2 separate regions of the Homo sapiens genome follow, and region 1 is linked to region 2. Evidence: promoter capture Hi-C in human tissues and cell types (Jung and others, 2019). All regions are on one chromosome and are shown on one strand. Each heading gives the region's core, a stretch centred on a gene start or on the middle of the fragment in contact. The rest is flanking DNA. Distances are from core to core; before and after follow the strand shown. Region 1 overlaps NINL (ninein like). Region 2 holds the start of APMAP (adipocyte plasma membrane associated protein).

What was found. The method cuts DNA at HindIII sites, captures the fragments that hold promoters and counts their contacts. A contact is called where the count stands out against the background at its distance.
Region 1: a contact is called between a fragment that was not itself captured here and the fragment with the promoter of APMAP in region 2, in 2 of the 25 tissues and cell types used here (aorta and hippocampus).

Annotation. Positions count from the first base shown.
Region 1 is chr20:25,532,151-25,536,929 of GRCh38, forward strand. All of the region lies in intron 1 of NINL (ninein like), which reads right to left. Among named protein-coding and RNA genes, the nearest start is that of NINL, 51 kb to the right of the region's middle. RefSeq lists an enhancer at 413-1,413. The HindIII fragment of the contact is 6,083 bases long and covers 1-4,779 here.
Region 2 is chr20:24,990,530-24,994,672 of GRCh38, forward strand. It overlaps APMAP (adipocyte plasma membrane associated protein), which reads right to left and starts at 2,222. Exons shown (of 9, transcript NM_020531.3): 1 at 2,065-2,222. The coding sequence starts at 2,159. RefSeq lists enhancers at 1,775-2,275, 1,834-1,893, 1,914-1,993, 2,124-2,363, 2,276-2,776. The HindIII fragment of the contact is 14,400 bases long and covers 403-4,143 here.

The DNA of each region.
Region 1 (4,779 bases), core at 800-3,299, 540 kb after region 2:
GCAGCAAGGCTGGAGAATGAGCTCCTTCCCTGCCACTCACAGCAGCTGGGCCTACCAGTCCCTTCCATGCGTGGGGCTCTCAGGAGGCCCCAGCCACACCGCTTCCCTTCCTCCCAGAGCCCCAGATTCACGTTTTCGAGGCTGGGCTAGGATTTCCAGAAGAGGGAAGGAGCTTCAATTCCCGTATGACTACGAATAAAGCATCCACAGGAGGGCTGGCCAGCAGGGCTGGCGTCTGGCAAACAGCGGTCCCCTCTGGCCCTGTCTTTGCAGGCTCATGGCATAGGCAGTAGGGGGAGCCCACCCATCTGACCAGCCAGCCCCCAAGGGGATCTGCAGCTCTGCTCCACTGTCCCCATGTGAGCAGGGAAATACAGGCAGCCCCCACCACTTCTCAAGGCTGCACTGAGCCTTCTCAAAGCCCATGGCTGAGTTACTGAGCATTCAGAGCCGCTCCTCTCCTCTCCTCTCCCTAACTCCTGCGTCTCAGACTCTGCCCAGAGAGCAGCTGCTTCACCTATTGGTGAGTCAGGTGCGGGCAAGCAGGTGAGTCAGACACAGCAGGTCTACAAGCCAGTCAAAGACCTTTCTGTGACAATTTGCCAGCATATGGCCTAACCCCTATCCAAGACAATATCCAGCCACATTTTCAAAATAAAGGAAACGAGGAGGTACTGTCTCCTCCCATACACCCGATAGAACCTGTCCTCCCCTCACCCCAGGAAGAGGGGCAAAGCGTCTTTCCGTAACCTCTCAAATACCCCATGACCAACCTTAGCAAATGGAGGCAGTTGGAAACCCTGGCCAGGAAGGCTTAGAAAAACTCCAAGGCTCCACAGAAGACTGCATTCACCTGGAAAGCGGCCCGGCTCAGCCACATAGGAACCCCGCTGCAGAGAGGCTGGCCGCTTCAAGTGGCTGCCCTGGGATCCAAGAGCCCCAGAACACAGCCCAGGCAACACGACAGCAGACAAACCATGAACCCCGCAGAACTGTGGAGGGTCTCAGAAGCAGTGGAGCAGCCTGAAGATGGGGCTTAGAATTCCAATGTTCACACACACTCCAATCCCTGGAGTCTGGAGCCGATGATGCCAGGCGGATGTGGGAGAGGAGAATAATGAAGGGGCTGAGCCCAAAACACACACACGCGCACACAGAAAAATTGCACTACCCAGAGAAGGAAAGAGGAAAGCCATTTCAGCCAGGAAACAAAACAGACTGCTGGGCAAAAAGAACGATCCGAGACCAAGGGAAGTTTCCTGGACACTGACATGTTACAGTGGCAAAACAAACGTCAACAGCAGAATCGGAAGACAAGGAAAGCTCCTATAAAGTGTATCTAAACAATAAAGATAAAAAATGAGAGAGAAAAAAAGGGAAATTAAAAATCAATTCCATACAGTAGTCAAATCAGTGTGGTCTCAGCACAGGCAGACATAGACCCATGGAACAGAATACAGACCCCAGAAATCAACCCCCATGCATACAAATGATCTTCAACAAGGGTGTCAAGACCACAAAACGGGAAAAAGACTGTCTCTCCAATAAATGCTGCAGGGAAAACTGCAGATATCCACAAGCAAAAGAACTCAGTTTAACCCTTGCTTTCTACAATATACAAAAATTAACTTTTGTAAAATTTACCAAAAATGGATCAAAGACCTTAAATGTAAGACCTAAAACTATAAAGCTTTTTATAGTTTTAACTAAAATAGTGTAATAGTTTTATAAACAGAGAGAAAGCTTCATGATGTTGGATTTGGCAGTGATTTCTTAGATATGTCACTAAAAGCACAGGCAACAAAAGCAAAGATACACAAAGGGGACTACATCAAACTTGAAAACTTGAAGGCACTGCGGGGCCAGGATGGTGGGAGCAGGGGAAGCCAAAAGAAAAGTAGGTAAACTCTAAGTCTGTCCTTCTTCCTGGCCCAGGATACACAGTCCTCCTGTGCCCAACTTCTCACCAGACACCTGCACGTTAGCTCACTGCAACCTTGGCCTTATCAGTACTGCACAAAGCCCTCTTCAGCATGCAGCATAAACACTATTCTATAAAATCCCCAACAAAGCTTTGTCTCTTTGCAGTCAGCTCCTCTCTTCCTGCTGTGCCTGTTACTCCCTTGCAATGTATTTTTCTCCTTTCTCTCTGCCTTTCTTGGTAAATTCTTCTTACCCCTGCACTGCCAGCCCCAGACAGTTGCCGCTCACTTGTGACAATAACCAAAAGAACTGAAAACAGCATCTCAAAGAGATACAGTCATGTATCACTTAACAATGGTGATAAGTTCTGAAAATGTGTTGTTAGGTGATTTTGTTGTTATGCAAACATCACAGAGTGTACTTACACAAACCAAGATAGCATGGCCTACCACAAACCTAGGCCACAAGCAGGTTCGTGTACTGAACACTGGAGGCAATTGTAACACAATGGTAATCCAAACATATCTAAACATAGAAAAGGTACAGAACTAGAGTATTGTAATCTTATGAGACCACCACTGTATATGCAGTCCATTGCTGACTGAAATATTGTTATGTGGTATATGACTATATGTACTGTCATCCCTCAATATCCATAGGGGGTGGTTCCAGGACCTCTCATGGATACCAAAATCACAGATGCTCAAGTCCCTCTATAAAATGATGTAGTATTTGCCTATAACCTATGCATATCCTCCTGTATACTTTAAATCACCTCTAGATTACGTATAATACCTAAGACAAGGTAAATGCTGTGTAAGTAGTTGTTATACCATATTGTTTAGGGAATAATGACAAGAAAACAAAAAGCCTCTACATGTTCAGTATAGAGGCAACCATCACATGCCTAACTACATTTTTGATTCATGGTTAGTTAAATCCACAGATGTAGAACCCACTGACACAAAAGACTCACTGTACTTCTGTGTACAATGAAATATTATTACACCTCAAAAAGGAGGAAAATCTTTTCATTTGCAACAACATGGATACGCCTAGAGGACATTAACGCTAAGTGAAATAAGGCCGGCATAGAGAGACAAACGCCACAGACCTTACTCAGATGTGGATTCTAGAGCAGCTGGCCGCAGAGAAGCTACGAGTGAACAGAAGTGGCCAGGGGCTGGTGTCGGGGGTTGTGGAGTTGTTGGGTAGGGGTGCAAAGTTTTGGGTAAGACATGAATAAGTTCTGGCGATCTACTGTACAACGTGGTGACTACAGTTAATAATAACATATTGTATACTCAAAAATTGCTATGAGAGTAGATCTTAAATGTCACCACAAAAAGTATTAAGTATGTGAGGGGACAGATATGTTAATTAGCTAGATTTAACAATTTTATAATGTATACATGAATCAAAACATAATTTTGTACACCATAAATATATGCATTTTTGTCAATTATACCTTCATAAACTGGGGTGGGGGAGAAGTTCTAGAGATCTGTTACAAAACTAAGCGAATCTAGTTAACATTACAGAACTGTACACTTAACAATGGTTAAGAGGGTAAATTTCATGTTGTGTTTTTTACCACCATTAAATTTAAGTAAAACATATTTTTTAAAAATAAAGAAAGAAAAGTGTTCAAAATATGGTGACCTGCTTTCTGAAACTGCCCAACTCTGTTCTCCTACAGCACTTTTATCTGGATTTTCTCCTTGCCTCCCTCTCCCGCAAAATAATCAATCCCAAATCTCTCGACATCCTTGAAAAGCCCAGAAAAGGGAGCCAAGGGAAGGGAAAGGGGAAATGATTAGAATAATACAAGACTTTTCCAAGCACACAGATGGAAAAGTCATTCCGCTTGGGACAACAAATGAAAAACACCCGCGCCAAGCACACCCTTGTGAACTTCAGAGCAAACTAACGAGTGAGCCCTACAGATGTCCAGAGAGAAAGAGCAGCCCCACATCACAGCAACAGGGATCAGAATGGCACCATGCCCACAGCAGCAAGGCTGAAAGTTCAGAGCCAACCCAGGGCCTTCCATGTGCTCAGGGTAAATGACTTTCCACCTACCCAAGAGACTATATAACCCACGCTGAATACACACTTCGGCAAAATAAGGGGTGAACCAAGAAAGTCAAAGACACAGGCTCACGATCTGGGCTCCATCCAAGACGAGAGGCTTTGGTGTAGGAGCTCAGCCAGGCCAGGGATGGGAGGTGACCAACCCCAACAGACTGCTGTGTACTGCCCACTGAGCCTTTGAGAAAAATAGGGATAGGCTTTTGACAAGGCTGATGGAGCATTTGGAAAAAATAAGAATAAATTCATTAAAAAGTAAGCCAGGGCTGGGAGCAGTGGCTCACGCCTATAATCCCAGTACTTTGGGAGGCTCAGGCAGGTGGATCACTTGAGGTCAGGAGTTCAAGACCAGCCTGGCCAACATGGTGAAATCCTGTCTCTACAAAAATACAAAAAATACAAACATTAGCTGGGCATGGTGGCAGGCGCCTAAAATCCCAGCTACTCAGGAGGCTGAGGCAAGAGAATTGCTTGAGCCTGGGGGGCAGAGTTTTCAGTAAGCTGAGATCATGCCACTGCACTCCAGCCTGGGCGATAGAGTAAGACTGTCTCCAAAAAAAAAAAAAGGTAAGCCAGTAAAAGCCCAGACAACATCAGCCCATAAAGCCAAACCTGGCAAAAGAGTAGAAGTGTAATCATGACCAACCTATTGGTTCTGCAGTGGACAATGTTATGCAGTGACAACAGCAAAAATGCACAGTGGCCACTGGGGAGCCTAGAGAGTATAAGAAATAACAGCAGAATGAGGTTTAATTACCTTGCTCA
Region 2 (4,143 bases), core at 972-3,471:
TCAGTTTAGTAATATGTCTTTCAAGGCTTCCTTTATTCTATTTAGCACATCTAAAGTGCTAAAGTTTATTCTAATAGTTTCGTGTTTTTACTTCTGAATTTAGATTCCTTTACTTCGCCCACTATACACAGGCTTTCCTGGCTTATGTTGAACCCTCGACTTTTAAGGTAATCAAGAATACTATTACATGAACTACTAGAAATGACCACAAAATAAATGAAAAATATAGGAGAAATGCAGAAGAAAAATAAGAAAAACAGCTACCATGTTACAATAATAATTGCGGAAAGGAAGGGTGGTGACAAGACCTCACTTTGAAAGAGATCATTACAGATATACAGAAAAGGGATAAACAAACAAGAAGGACAAACACAGGGAAACAGGAACAATGTTCATGGACAGGGAAGTCAAGGAAATAAGTAAACATAAATGTAAAAGGCACACTGGAAAAGATCAGGCAGTAAAAGATGACTTTAGAATCAGATTTACTTACTCATTAAGGAAGAAATCCCCACAGAGAACCTGAAAAAAACAATTAAGTCTGCCTGCTTGCCCTGGGGCCAGAAGTGTGAGCCAGCCAACTTGAGAGTTGGGACTACCTAACCGGTGCCCTCAGGGGCTGTAGGCCCTGGTTTTCAACACACTGCACCTAATGACAAACTCAGGCCACTGCTCTTCCATTTCTCAGGTAAAAATGCCTTGTTTTCAAGATTTCTGTAGGAAAGTGTTGCCAATTCTTGCATGTCCATTCTAAATGGCTCCTCAATCATCAACAGATGATTAATTCACAATATTCACAGTAAGTAGGGTGATCAGATTGTCCCAGTTTGCCCAGGTTTAGCACTGAAAGTTCTACATCCTTGGAAACCCCAGTCCAGGGCAACGCAGGATGGTTGGTCAGGATATATGGGAGCATCTTCCCGATCTTTTCACTGGCCCAAGGAGTCAACTATCACCGCAAAGTCTTCTCTCTAAATTGCCTCTCTAGAGCCTAAATGCTCCTTCCTGCCATCGCTCTCCTTCAAATGTGTTCCTCTTATCATCAGTCAATAAACTCAGTCTACAGGGGCAAAAACTGCCTCTCATTCATATGTACCCCACCACCTCTTGGCACACTACTGATGAACAAATATTTCCAGTATTTCTATCAAATATAAGTCAATCAGTCCCACAACTTCAAGCTTGGTCTATGGGGCCTCTTGATTCTCCCTGAAACTTAAAAGTTATGAAATTCAGGACACAGAATTGAAAAGTGAATTTTAAGTATCTTATATTGAAATCTATGCTTACGAATCATGATTCAGTTTTTAGCTAACAAAACACAGCATTCTTATATTCTGAAAGATGGGAGAGGAGGCAAAGGGCAAAACCTGATATTTCTTAGGTGTCAACAACTACAGTTTCCTATGTTTCTCCATCCCTATCAGGAAAAACTGCCAGGCTGAATTCTCACAAAAATTGCCTACAATGTCACTACTGTTCTCCACTCTTTCCAAGAACCGCGGTGAGGACTGGTCACGCAGCGTGAGGGGGGCAGGTGCAGAAGAGCAAGTGTAGAAGCCATCTCTTCGCCGGATAACGAGGCAGGACCCCAGCATCTCGTGGGACCTCCTCCCTTCGGGAAATTGCGAGCGGGGAACCAGGAACACGCAGGGCCCCGGCCAAGTAGCTGTGCTCAGGGGGATCATTTAAGCCAAAGGAAGGACAGCGCGAGGGGAGCGAGGGAAAGGCGAGGAAGCAACCGCTATGCAGGGTGGGGCAGGAGTGAGGGAGGGAAGGCAAAGGAGCGGCGCGAGGCGGTCTCGGGTCCGGAGAGCCGAGGACAACGCGGCGACTGGGCGCAGGGTGCACCCGAACCTGAAAGACCTGGCAGGTACATCCGCCTTGTCGGAGCCTGCTTCCTCGGAAAAATGAGTTTTTCTTGGGGATGAAACGAGAGGACTCTGACAACGCGCTCGGCACCGCATCCCCAGGTTACTGTTACTGCCGTCGCCGCTGTCCAAGAGGGTCGCCCTCCACTCCTAGCGGCCCGGCTCCAGCGCCCAGTCTGGGAGTCCGCCCTACCTGCCGTCCTTAGCCTCCGGGGCCTGGCCATCATCGTCTGTGACGACCTGCGGCCGCAGGGGCCGGCGCTGTCGCAGCCCGTCCGCCTCGCTCATGGTACGGGCGCCAGCCTCACCCGCAGAAACCACCTCACACTGAGCGGCGCCGGCTCAGACTCCAGGCCCGCCCTCCCCCGTACGCGGAAATGACGTTGCGCCCAGGGACCATTCCGCAGCGTTCTCCCCGCCCCTTCCGGCCTCATGGGCGGGAGGTCCCCGGCGCGTCGTTGCTCGGCGCTCTGAGGCTAATTCTGACCGCCCGGAAGTGGGGCTCGGAACCCGCTCAGAGATAGCACCGGGAGCTGCCGGGGTCCCCGCCTGTCTCGGACTCCGGGGCCCAGAACGCGAGTGGTTCAACCTCGGGCTCGTCTAGCCCAGTGCCTGCGCATGCCGCCTTCGTCTCACGTTTCTGAGGACGGGGATGCTCATGACGCACTTGGGAATTGCTAGCACGAGATGTTGGCCACTTTTATCGTTGGAGAGGATAGCGCTGTTTATTCAGTGTCAGCGACCCTGCTCTTACAGGCAGCGTCAAAAATAATGCATTCACACCCTTGGAACGAAGTCACCTCTGCCTGAAAATTACATCCTTCCCCGACTCAGCCGGTTAAGGGGAAAACTTGGGCTAGAAAATGTTTCCCTCTGGTTAAGGCCAGATGTTGAGTATTAAATCTTTTTGTGACGATTACAACAGACATTTGATAAAGTTTATTAAGTTTTGATAAAGTTTATTAAGTTTTGATAAAGTTTATTAAGGATTACCCTTAAGTAAAGTCCAGGTAGAAGTAGAAATTATCACTAACAAAGTTTAAGAAAGCATAGAGAGGCATTGTTCTTTCAACAGTATTGCAGGAAACCAGAAATGTTCCCAGGTGCTGGGAGACGATGGTGGGCAAATCACAGACAAGGCCCCTCCTTATAGAAATTAAACTAGTGGGAAAGATGACTTTAATCAGATCATCATCATAAAATAGACGTAAAATTATCAAACGTAATAATTGCTTCAAAAGGGAAGAGCTGAATCTTGTGAGAGCATTTGAGATTCAAAGAGGAATCGAATCTGGAGGAAGTGACAGGCAGAAGAAATCAAAGCCCGTTACCAGTGGCACGAGGAATTATCTCTGGAAAAGCCATGTTCAAAATGCAGTGTTAAGAAATAATTTCCTCTTGGAGGCTTTTACCTTTTTAAATGCTAGATGGCACTAGAATTCCATGTGAATGCTTTTTATTTATTCATTCAAAGAGCGGAAGAACCAGCTTGAGGGAAGTGGAGAGCTGTGCAAATCCAGTTCTCCAGAGATCCCAGGTAATAATTCAGGCCTCGACAACATTTTACTTCATTCTGTGTCATTGAGAATAGCCAATACAGCTATTAAATCAGGGATAGTGTTAACAAAGTACTGTATGATCTCACGCCTTCCTGCCTGTCTGGACTATCCCTCTTGCTCCCCACCCCCCATTTCAGACATTCAGGATGGCTTAACATGTCTAATCTCATGCCTGGCTGCCTTTGTCCTTGAGGTTCCTTCTTCCTGTGATACACTCTCCTTCACCTCCACTTGGCCAATTATTTTTATCATTCAGGACCCACTTCAAGTATCCTTGCTGAAAATTCTTCTCCCAGTTTCCCAAGCAGAACATCTTCCTCTTTGTCTTCAAGGCACTTTAAACATGTCCCAGCCATAACATTGAACTCACTGCATTGGAGCTATTTGTGTTCCATGCCCAGTGTTAAAGCCCACGCACTGCAAACACCCAGGGACACATTCAGAAGAAAAATAATGGCAGTAAGTTGGGTTTACTGAACTTGCTGCAGCAAAGAAATGCACCAGAGGACCGGTGAGGTTCCTCAAAATGGGGGAGTCATGGGAGACTCCTTGTGGGGTTTGGGGGCTGGAGTTAGTCCATCGATAGTCTTGCCCAGGGTTGGTCAGAATCCGTTAACAACGGGAGTCACTGGAGGAACCGTGGCCTTAGCTCTGGGACATGTAAGTCCATTCGGAGTTATCAGGAGGTCAGCTCGTGGGCTTATCATGAAGCA